Linked DNA regions of Homo sapiens: region 1 is linked to region 2. Evidence: promoter capture Hi-C in human tissues and cell types (Jung and others, 2019). All regions are on one chromosome and are shown on one strand. Each heading gives the region's core, a stretch centred on a gene start or on the middle of the fragment in contact. The rest is flanking DNA. Distances are from core to core; before and after follow the strand shown. Region 1 overlaps CRACDL (CRACD like). Region 2 holds the start of C2orf15 (chromosome 2 open reading frame 15).

The links. The method cuts DNA at HindIII sites, captures the fragments that hold promoters and counts their contacts. A contact is called where the count stands out against the background at its distance.
Region 1: a fragment that was not itself captured here is called in contact with the fragment with the promoter of C2orf15 in region 2 in 1 of the 25 tissues and cell types used here (hippocampus).

Annotation. Positions count from the first base shown.
Region 1 is chr2:98,845,493-98,850,583 of GRCh38, forward strand. It overlaps CRACDL (CRACD like), which reads right to left. Exons shown (of 10, transcript NM_207362.3): 2 at 1,239-1,318. The coding sequence starts at 1,308. Among named protein-coding and RNA genes, the nearest start is that of LINC02611, 76 kb to the left of the region's middle. The HindIII fragment of the contact is 3,881 bases long and covers 1-3,673 here.
Region 2 is chr2:99,138,484-99,143,066 of GRCh38, forward strand. It overlaps C2orf15 (chromosome 2 open reading frame 15), which reads left to right and starts at 3,224. Exons shown (of 4, transcript NM_144706.4): 1 at 3,224-3,454; 2 at 3,802-3,918. All of the region lies in intron 1 of TSGA10 (testis specific 10), which reads right to left. RefSeq lists silencers at 2,484-2,553, 2,624-2,933 and an enhancer at 3,155-3,961. The HindIII fragment of the contact is 7,971 bases long and covers 1-4,583 here.

The DNA.
Region 1 (5,091 bases), core at 483-2,982, 290 kb before region 2:
CCCATTTTCCTTTCAATTCTGGCCTTATTATTTCTTACTTTGAAAAATATTTTAAAGAATATTCTTATCTAGAATTTTAAATTTTAAGTGGAAGAGGGTTGGTCTGAATAACTTAAGATCACTATTTGAAAAAAAGAAAACTTAGTCCCTTTTCTTCAGTAACCTCTGTATGTATTCAGAACTAGCACTTATTGAGGTCATTTCAGGCTGATGAAATATTTATTCAAACATTTATTGTTTACAATAAGTAATAATTCAGTGTCCCATAATATGAGAAAATGTGAAACTCAATTTTTTTTCAGGGCTCATCTAAAAACCCTCACCTTATATTTGGATTTATTTGGTATCCATTGAAATGTGACAGAGGAAAAATGGTTCTAATATGAAATAATAAGAAAAAATCTATCTTTAATATCTGAAATGGAGTATTTGCTGAAATTAGTATCTGAAGCTAGTGGCTAGCAGCTAGGATTTAATATTATTGGGAGCTGTTTCTCCTGAACTATATCAAAGAAAATCACTACTGGCATTTTCAGTGTAAATAAGAGAGAGATGGAGGCCTTGGTCACCAAAATAAAGGGAGTATATGAATGGCAAATCTAGAGAAAAGGTACATTGTGGGGAGATTAATTTTTTAATGTCAATTTTACAACTCTATCAGGACATAAATAGCAATATTTGGATAACAGTAAACCAATGACATAATTGGAGAACTCTTAGAAAGTCTTATGAGATGGTGATTCATGGGCCTAGAACTCAGCTCAGCAGACAACATACTAAAGATCTCCTTCAGAACAAAAGTCATGAAGGAGAGGGATCAAAGGCTCTCTCCTGATGTAATTATTTTTTTACAGATGATCAGGCTATCAGGTACTTTGCTCAGCTTCCTACTGATGCCTTTGGATATTCTTAGATGGTGAATGAATCCATTTAGTACCTCTTCCTTTGCATTCAAGTCAGCCAAACATGGGGACATGCTTACCTCCAGAAAGGAGGAAAATGAGCTGAAAGGTCCCCGTGCTTGACACAGAAGCAGAGGAAATCTGCCCCGAGCAGCCTTAAATAATGTGCATGTGCCCCCAGTCACAGCGTGAAGGGCCTGGGGGTATCTGAGCACACTGGGAACTAAATCCCCACTTTTCATACAGAAAGCCCCAAAGGCCTGCCTCTGTCAGTCCCTCTCCCTGCCCCACAACAAAGCAAGTGCCCTCCCCAGAGCAGGGGAAGCAGGGCCTTACCTGTGCTGTCCTCCCCAAGGCCTTCTGCAGCCTCCCGAAGCTTAATGTCCATCACCCTTGTGGAAATCATGTCAAGCTCGCTGAAATTATATGGAAATTCACGTTAAAGAAACATGGTTAGCAGAAGTTACCAATGAGTGAAATGGTGTTCGTGACTGCATTTGCCATGATCTGGCCTGCACACACCCCAGCAAAGACAGTCCAGGGCAGAGTGCAGCACAGTACAGGCCAAAACCATATCCACAGCCACAAGATCAGTAACCGCATAAGCGTTTAATCACTGACTGGGGCAATTTAATGGAAAACAGATCACTGAAACAAATGCTTCACTAATTTACACACTGCAGATTAGGTTTCTTTCAAAAAAGCTTTTCTCAAATTATAAGAAATGATTTTTTTCTCTTGTTTACTACAGGAAGTTTGGAAAATAGAATGAAAATCACCCATAATCCAACCAACCAAGGATAACCACAGTTAATGTTTTCATTTCCTTCCAATAATTTTTTACGCAAATATTTTATCCACATGCACACATATCATATTAGGAAGCTTGACTTCCTGATTTTCTTACTTACACCACATCATTAAAATTATTCACGTGTTATTTTAATGGCTACCTAATATTTTGATATACTACTGTACCATTATTTATTTACATTGAAATTCTTTTTTGAATGCAATGAAAAATGTCAAACAGATACAAAAATATGAACAACATATAATGAACTCAAGGTATGGCTAATCTTGCTTCATCTTTACCCCCACACCCCATCCCACTCCTATGAGGTGATTTCTAAGCAAATCATCCCAGACATGATGATCATTTAATCCATATAAATTCAGCTGCTTCCTGAATAAAAAAATCCCTCACTCTTCATGGAAACCAAATGCATGATCACAGGTCAATATTCCTGCTACAGAATACTGAGCTAGTGGTGTCCATGCCTTCCATAACTGACTGTTACAGTATGCTCTACCTCCATATACTATCACACCATTTATTTAGAAAGCTATTTCTTACTGTTAGGTATGACGAATCCTCACACTTAAAAAGGGGGGCTTGAATATTTAACCAATTCACGTTTACCACTTGTACACAGCACAGAATGGGAAATGATGGGAGAAATGCAAAGAAAACACAAACAGAGAAAAGGATTTGCGGGTGTGTGCCCGAGTTGGCTCTAATATTTCGATTTCTTCTAATGTTCATCCTCCCTACCAGCCAATCCCTCAAAAGCTGAACAAAGTTTCACCAGCTCCAGCTCTCAATGTTCATACAATTTGGCTTCAAAAAAATGTCCGGTCTTGTGTCGGCTCTGCCAAAAACTCTTGGAACCTCACCAGATTTGACTCATGATCATGCTATCATTATCTATAAAATGAGGGTTGGACAGAAACAGTATTTTTCAAATCCTTTACCACTGTTTTAGGCTTCAAAGGACATCCTTGCTTTCATCATCTGTGTTCACATTCAAAGCAACAGACAATGCTATCAAACAGCAGAATGATAGTAGTTCTAGGCTGATGGCCCAACCCAAAGGCCCAGGTGTTCCAAAGGTCACCCCCTCAATCCCCCCTGCAATATGTTAGTCAGTCAGCAACCCCCTCATCCCCAAGAGTCCTTTAGAGGTGGTAGCTGCCGGGGATTCAATGGAAGAGGCAATGGAGAAGGAAAACATACGGTGTAAGGGGAAGAGTGAAGATGGTGAGGGTGGCCTAGGAGTCACCATCTGTTCCCCTCAGTGCCATCTCCTGAGGCTGCCACTGAGCTCTAGCTCAGTGCAAGAGTTTTCCATTGCCTGAATTTGGAGTTAACCATGGCAACTGCAAATTACTTATCAAGCATGCAGCTATCACCTGAATTATCTCATTTAATCCCCAAGAACTTTTAATATTCCCATTTTGGAGATGAGAACATTTTTAGCTCACTGCATCCTCAACCTCCTGGGCTCAAGAGATCCTCCCACCTCAGCCCCCCCACAAATAGCTGGGAACACAGGCCCACGCCACCACACTTGGCTAATTTTTTGTATTTTTTGTAGAAACGGGGTTTCGCCATGTTGGCCAGGCTGGTCTTGAACTCTTGAGCTCAAGCAATCTGCTTGCCTTGGCCTCCCAAAGTGCTTGGGATTACAGGTGTAAGCCACTGCACCCAGCAGAGAACATTTCTGATATTAAGCGGTTTATTAACTTGCCTAAGGTAGCAGAGCAGATATGGCGTCTACACTCACACTGACTGCATACCCAGCATGGGCAGGTGCTTCTGAGGCACTGGGATACAGTGACAGATGAGACCCACGTGGTTCCCACCTCTTGCAGGTGCTGACCCAGTGAAGGGCAGAGCCCTGAGCTGTCCCCAGTGGGGCTCAAGAGAAGCTGGAGAATCCAAAGGACAGGATCTCCCACTGAAATGGCTCTGCCTGCCAAGAAGCCTTACCCAGGGTCAGGCCAGAACTCAGAGGCTGGAGGAGCCCCGAGAGATCATGCACTGGGTCTGATGGGGTTTCTTCGTCTGGGGAAAGGAACCGGAGGCCACTGTGATGTGTCAGCTAACTGGGAAAGGATTAACACTCTGGAGAAACCATGATGTTACGCAACACATCAAGGTCATGTGGACACCTTGCAAATGAAAAGTGTCCTTGTTGGGAAGAACAAGGTGAGTGCCAGAGGTGTGTGTGAGAATGTGTATGAGCCCTGTGGGTGGGTGTGCAGAGGGGCACCCCCTCCTGCCAAGCCCGGATCAGTCCAGAGGCTCAGGCTTGCTTCTCCCTGGGTTGAAGGACATGGTTGTGAGAAAGCTGCACGGGGCAGAGGGTTCAGATGCAGATGTAGGCGGAGGGCCGGGGAGGGGGGAGCATGGGAGGGGATGCAGACTCACCTGTGTAGGTCCTTCCACCCTACTCTCAGCCAGAAGATGCAGACAGCACCCCCAGACCACCAAGACCACCAAGACCACCAGTGGACTCACACAAGGAGGCAAAGGTTGCCCACCGACAAAGGGACAACAAATGGATCTCATGTCACATGGAAGGTTTCAGAACCTACTCATGTTTTATGTCCCAAGCATCTTCATACAGATAAGAGCATAACATGGGGTGGAGGAAGGTGGCAAAAACTTGAATGTTAGGCAGTCCCGGGGTGGCATCTTCACCCTACCACCTACCAGTGCCAGGCCTCAGTATCCTCATAGGCAAAAGGAGGATAATAATACTATAATCAAATGAAACCAGGACATGGCATGCAGCAAGCACAAGCTGAGCCCTGCTGTCGGTTTCTGCAGCCCACTCCTCACCACCACGTGATACTGTTTATGGACAAAGGCTCCCAGAGCACACATGCCCGGCATGCCCTGGCAGCAGGTAAGCGCCAGTCTTCCAAGCAAATGGCTCACTTCAAAGTCACCATTGTCAGTCACAGGACAAACACCTGGCTTTCCAGCTGACCCCTGTGCTTCCTGATCCCCACCGCCCAATGGGCTCAAACCACTGCCAGGTAAGTGATGAAAACACGTTCAGGGTCACAGAGGAATGTCTGTCCGGAGTCCGCAGGCTGCAAAGGTGGAGAACTGTTTCCTTCATGTGGACATTCCAGGTGGAAACACCCCACAGCTGTGACAATGGAACATCATCTCTGTTGGGCCAAGTAACTCGCCTTTCTGAATATGCGTTCCCCAAGCCGCAGTAAAGTTCAAGGAAACGCCAGATGTAAAACCGTAATTAGAAAGGCAATGTGGCAAATACCCAATACCTCCCAGACCTCCTTTTGCTCCTCACACGAAGACAGTGCTTCTCACTGGAGCTCCAAGGTCAAGTCAGGCCACCTCAGTGTCCCCTCAACCAGCATCTGCCTTCCA
Region 2 (4,583 bases), core at 1,974-4,473:
TTCAAAATAAGAAAATTTAATGATTCGAACAAAGCAGTTTCAATGGTGGGTGAAAACAAGTCTGAAGGGGACTAATGAATGAATAGTAAAGAAAAAGAAATGGAAAATGTAAACTTCTTTTAGGAAGCATGATTGTGAGAGGAAGAGAGGTACAACAAAGGTGGAAGACAACCAAGGTTGTGGAAACGTCATTATGGGAAGAGAAAAACTTGTTCCTTAATTCTCTTTACATAAGGATCCTCTTTCAGAATTAAAAGTCCTGCATCCTCTCCTCAGAAAAATGCAAATACACCTTTACAAACAATTTCAGGGGATTTAAGACTCTATAAGGTCCTTGGACTCCAGGTGAAGAAGCCCTACAGTACAGAAACAATGAAGATTCCTAAGGCATGAGTTAATGTTAATTGATGGAGAAAGACAGCTGAGGTAATAAGAGGAAACCCAGATAAAGATGTATTGCCCCGACACAAGAAAGACAAAAGCAAGGACAGGTGAAGATTTAGACACTTGTAATCCCAATAATCCCAACACTTTGGGAGGCCAAGGCCAGAGGATCACTTGAGCCCAGGAATTTGAGACCAGCCTGGACAACATAGTGAGTTCCTGTATCTACAAAAATTAAAAAATAAATTAGCCAGGCATAGTGGCATCCACCTGTGGTCCCAGCTACTTGGGAGGCTGAGATAGGAGAATCACTTGAGCCCGGGAGGTCAAGGCTGCAATGAGTCATGATCGCACCACTGCACTCCAGCCTGAGCGACAGTGAGATCATGTCTCAAAAAAAAAAGGTAAGTGTCATGGAAATCTGAGGAAGTTTCTGTCTGGTTGAATTTTAATTTTTCAGTGAAACAGGAGCTAAGATTATATAATAAAAAGTATCATCGGTGTTGAGCAAAATATGAAGCACATAATATGTATTCAACAAATTATTGATTTTTTGATAGAATGGAAAATACTGGAGTACTTCAATGGAATTCTGAAATCTGGTTCCACAAAAGCTTACTACAGTTGAGGTGGGTTTTTCTTTTTAAAAATATTGTCTCCAAAAGTGTAGACTTATAGACATTGAAGTAGAAAGGAACTGCCTCACTAACAGAAGGATGTGGAAAACCATACAAGATTTATGAATAATTCTGAGAGAGTATTTTATATAATAAAAATAAGTGGATAAATATTTTGGGAAACAATCAGCAAACTAAATACTGCGAGCAACAATAAAGATTAATCTTAAAAAAAATGTTGAGTAAAGAAGCAAGATGTAAATGAATACTTAGTACAATTCCATTCGAAGTTCAAAAACAAGCCAAACTGTAATGTGCATGTTCACATACAATGATGTGAAACATTAAGGAAAATCAAGGAAGTGGCTATCTTAGAAGTCAGGAGAGTGGCTATCTCTGGGGAGGGAAAGAAATATGTAATCTGAAAAGGTGATAAATAGTAATACCTCTAACTGCCTCTGTGTATGGAGGACTTCAAAACCAAATCGTCCTAAACAAACTAGTCTAAGCAACTCAAAAAGAAGACAGAAAAGATCTCCCAGAGAATCTCTACACCTGATTATATTCTGGGCTACAGGCAGTGATTTTTCTTCAGAAGGTAAACAGTACGCGAGATATTGTGGAAGCTGCCATTAAATAATGCCAAAGTTTAGGATTTAAAATTAATATTTAATTAATGTACCGTCCTAGTTATTTCCCACTAATTAAGACTGAAGAGTTTGGCTCATTAATCAATTAAAATACAAACAAGAATCTGTCTTATCCTGGAAGCAGATTCGAATGCGACATCCTACTTCTATAACTAACCTGTTTTTTTCTACTTACAAACCTATTGTTATTCTACTTATGTCCTTACACGTAAACAAAGTATACTTGAAATGCTGAACACCAGTACAGAAAATTTTAAACAAGGAAATCTCCTAGGATATAAGGTCCTGGAATGGAAGAAGGAAAACGTTGGGACACTATAATCTATGCAAACTTTCCCGAAGCTGCGAAAAAAAAAAAGTGAAAAAAAACCATATTTCTGTGAGTTTTTAGGTATCAAGTCCATGATCACCTAGTTATCCAATTTAAGTCTCAAATAGTTTTTCAACAAAAGCCAGCTTTCCCTGCCTTTACTGTGTATAATTTTTACTAAAATTATCTGAGATTTTCATGCAAATGCCTATGTAATCTCAGCCTTTCACCACCCCAAGTCTAGAAAGAGGCTCAGAAATGAGCGATCGGGAGTCAGGCTGAACTCCCAAATCTGTGACTTCCAAATTCCTCGGCTCCACCAGAGCTTCCAGAGCGTTTCTAAACTGAACAGTCTCCCCAACAACCAAGCGGAGAGCTGCGGGAGGACGCGAAGCAGTGACCATAGGAACTGGGCTCAAACCTAACCTCCCAAGAAACAGGGGCAACTCGTGCTGCCGAGCTTCCGGCCGGCAGCTGTGCCCGCCGCTGCCCCTCACAGCCGCTCCCGCTGCTAGCGCCCAACTCCGCCCGCCACGGCCCCGCACCCGCCACTCCTGCCCGCTTGCAGCCGCCTTCTCAGAGACCTTCCAGTCCAGTAGCAGCACTCTCCCCACCCCGCGCACCTCCGCAGCTTCTACCTGGAGCTCCGGGTCCCTCCCCGGGCTCCTCGGCCCGCCGTCCTGCCCAGAGCTCATCCCCGCGACTGTCAGCTCTCGGCCTCAGCGGGGGATACAAGAACCGCCCACTCTCCATCCTCCGCCCCTTTCTCCTCCCTTCCCACCCCCAAATCGTCCTGGCCCCGCCCCGGCGGATCGGAGGAAGGACGGAGCCCGCGGGAAGGAGGAGGGGGCGGTTAGCGCCAGCCAGTGCCGCCGTGGCCCCGCCCTCACGCTCTGTACCGGAGTGGGGCTCGTCTTCCACCTCCCCGGCGCCCCAGCTTTGCTTCCGTCCCGCTCGCCCCCAGGCCCGGTGCGCACGCGTACCTGGCTCGACCTTCCTTCTCGCGGGGTCTACAAGCCGTGCGCGCGCTCCTACGCACGGAGCGACGCGTACGTCTACCTGCCTGCCTTACAGGGCACCTAGGAGGGACCCCTTCCTGGCCCATCCGCGCCGCGCAGGCGCACGCCCACGCAGCGCCTAGACGCCCGAGCCGAGCGTCCCGTCTCCTAGTAACCAGCCGCTAGCCCCCTTTTCCACGACTCATTTCTTAATCTCTGCCTGAGGCTGCCGCACCTGGATGGAACGCGCATGCGCAAGGCTGTCTCTCGCAGCCCCGCCTTCCCTCAGCTTGAAACACCTGCTGCTTCGCGGCGGTGGCTTTGTGCCACTTTTCCCAGGGCTTGGGCATCATTCTGGACCCATGTTCGGTGAACCGGTTACTCTCAGAGCTGCTTTCGGGCGCAGCTCCTGCTGCAGCCAGGGCCCGTTTTAAGAGAGGCTTCCAGGTCCAGCCCTCCCGCTGCAGCCTGCAGGGAGCGAGCCGGCCTGTCCCGGTGAGCGTGGGCAGCCTGGAGTCAGGGGAGCCTGGGGACCACGGCCTTGGTCAGCTCTGCACGATCAGGGCTGAATCAGGAAGTGGCAGATCTAGCAACAAAGTCCAGATTCCTGACCGATATTCCTTCTCCACATGCCAGTCCTTTTCCAAATCCCCTCACCTTAAAGTGACAAATGAGCTTTTTAGTGAAAAAGAATGAGCGCTGCATTCTTCTACCAATTTTTTGGAGCCCAGAATGGGGGGGAAAAAAGTCTTCTTAATTTTTCTTAATACCTACCATGTCCCTTCTTAAATAACTCAAGAGCTTCTGGATGATAATGGTGACTTTATCTCCTTTTCCTGCAGATGACATAGACACTAGGTTTTTACAGCAATTCTCTGATGACCTTGATATGGTAGAACGCTGTGTATTTCAAGAGTAAGCTCTCGTTTGAGGAGACTAACAATTCCTGTTTTCGCCAGGTGAGTACTCATTTTTCCCCCCACAAGATATCATTGGCAGGGATAAACAACTTTTGTGTAGAACAAATTTAGTCATAAAAATACATTTAATATAAATGCCATGTTTTTCCAATGTCTTTTCATCGTGTTATTACATGGTCTCATATTTTGTCGCATTTATTTTCAGATATCATATACTTTGTAAGTATAATTAGATACCAAAAAAAATTAAGTGTCCCTGTTATTTTAGATTAAGAGGTTAGAGGACACAAGGAGCACATATCCTCGGAAATGTAATTTTTTAAATGCACAAAATAACAAACTGAGAAGTTATGTTAGAGGGAATAATGTATAATCTCATTTCCTCTTCAGATACTAAGATTATTTTGAATACATTATCTAGCATTATTAAAAACAAATAGGAAAGAATGTTCTAAGTTTAAAACTATCAGCTGGAGTTGAAGACTTCGGGGGTGGGGAGATTATTAATATAGGAAGTAGGAAAGTACTTCCCTTATAGAAAGAATAAGAAAAGTTTAAGCACTTATGTATGCCACCTAGACGGTACTGAAGATTATTTGGAAAGAATATAAGGAAATGATCATTTTAAGGCCAAAAGAGGGTGAAAAGATTTTCCTTTTTTTTCCTATCAAGAACTGTTGACTTTCTCCCCTAACCTGAGAAAG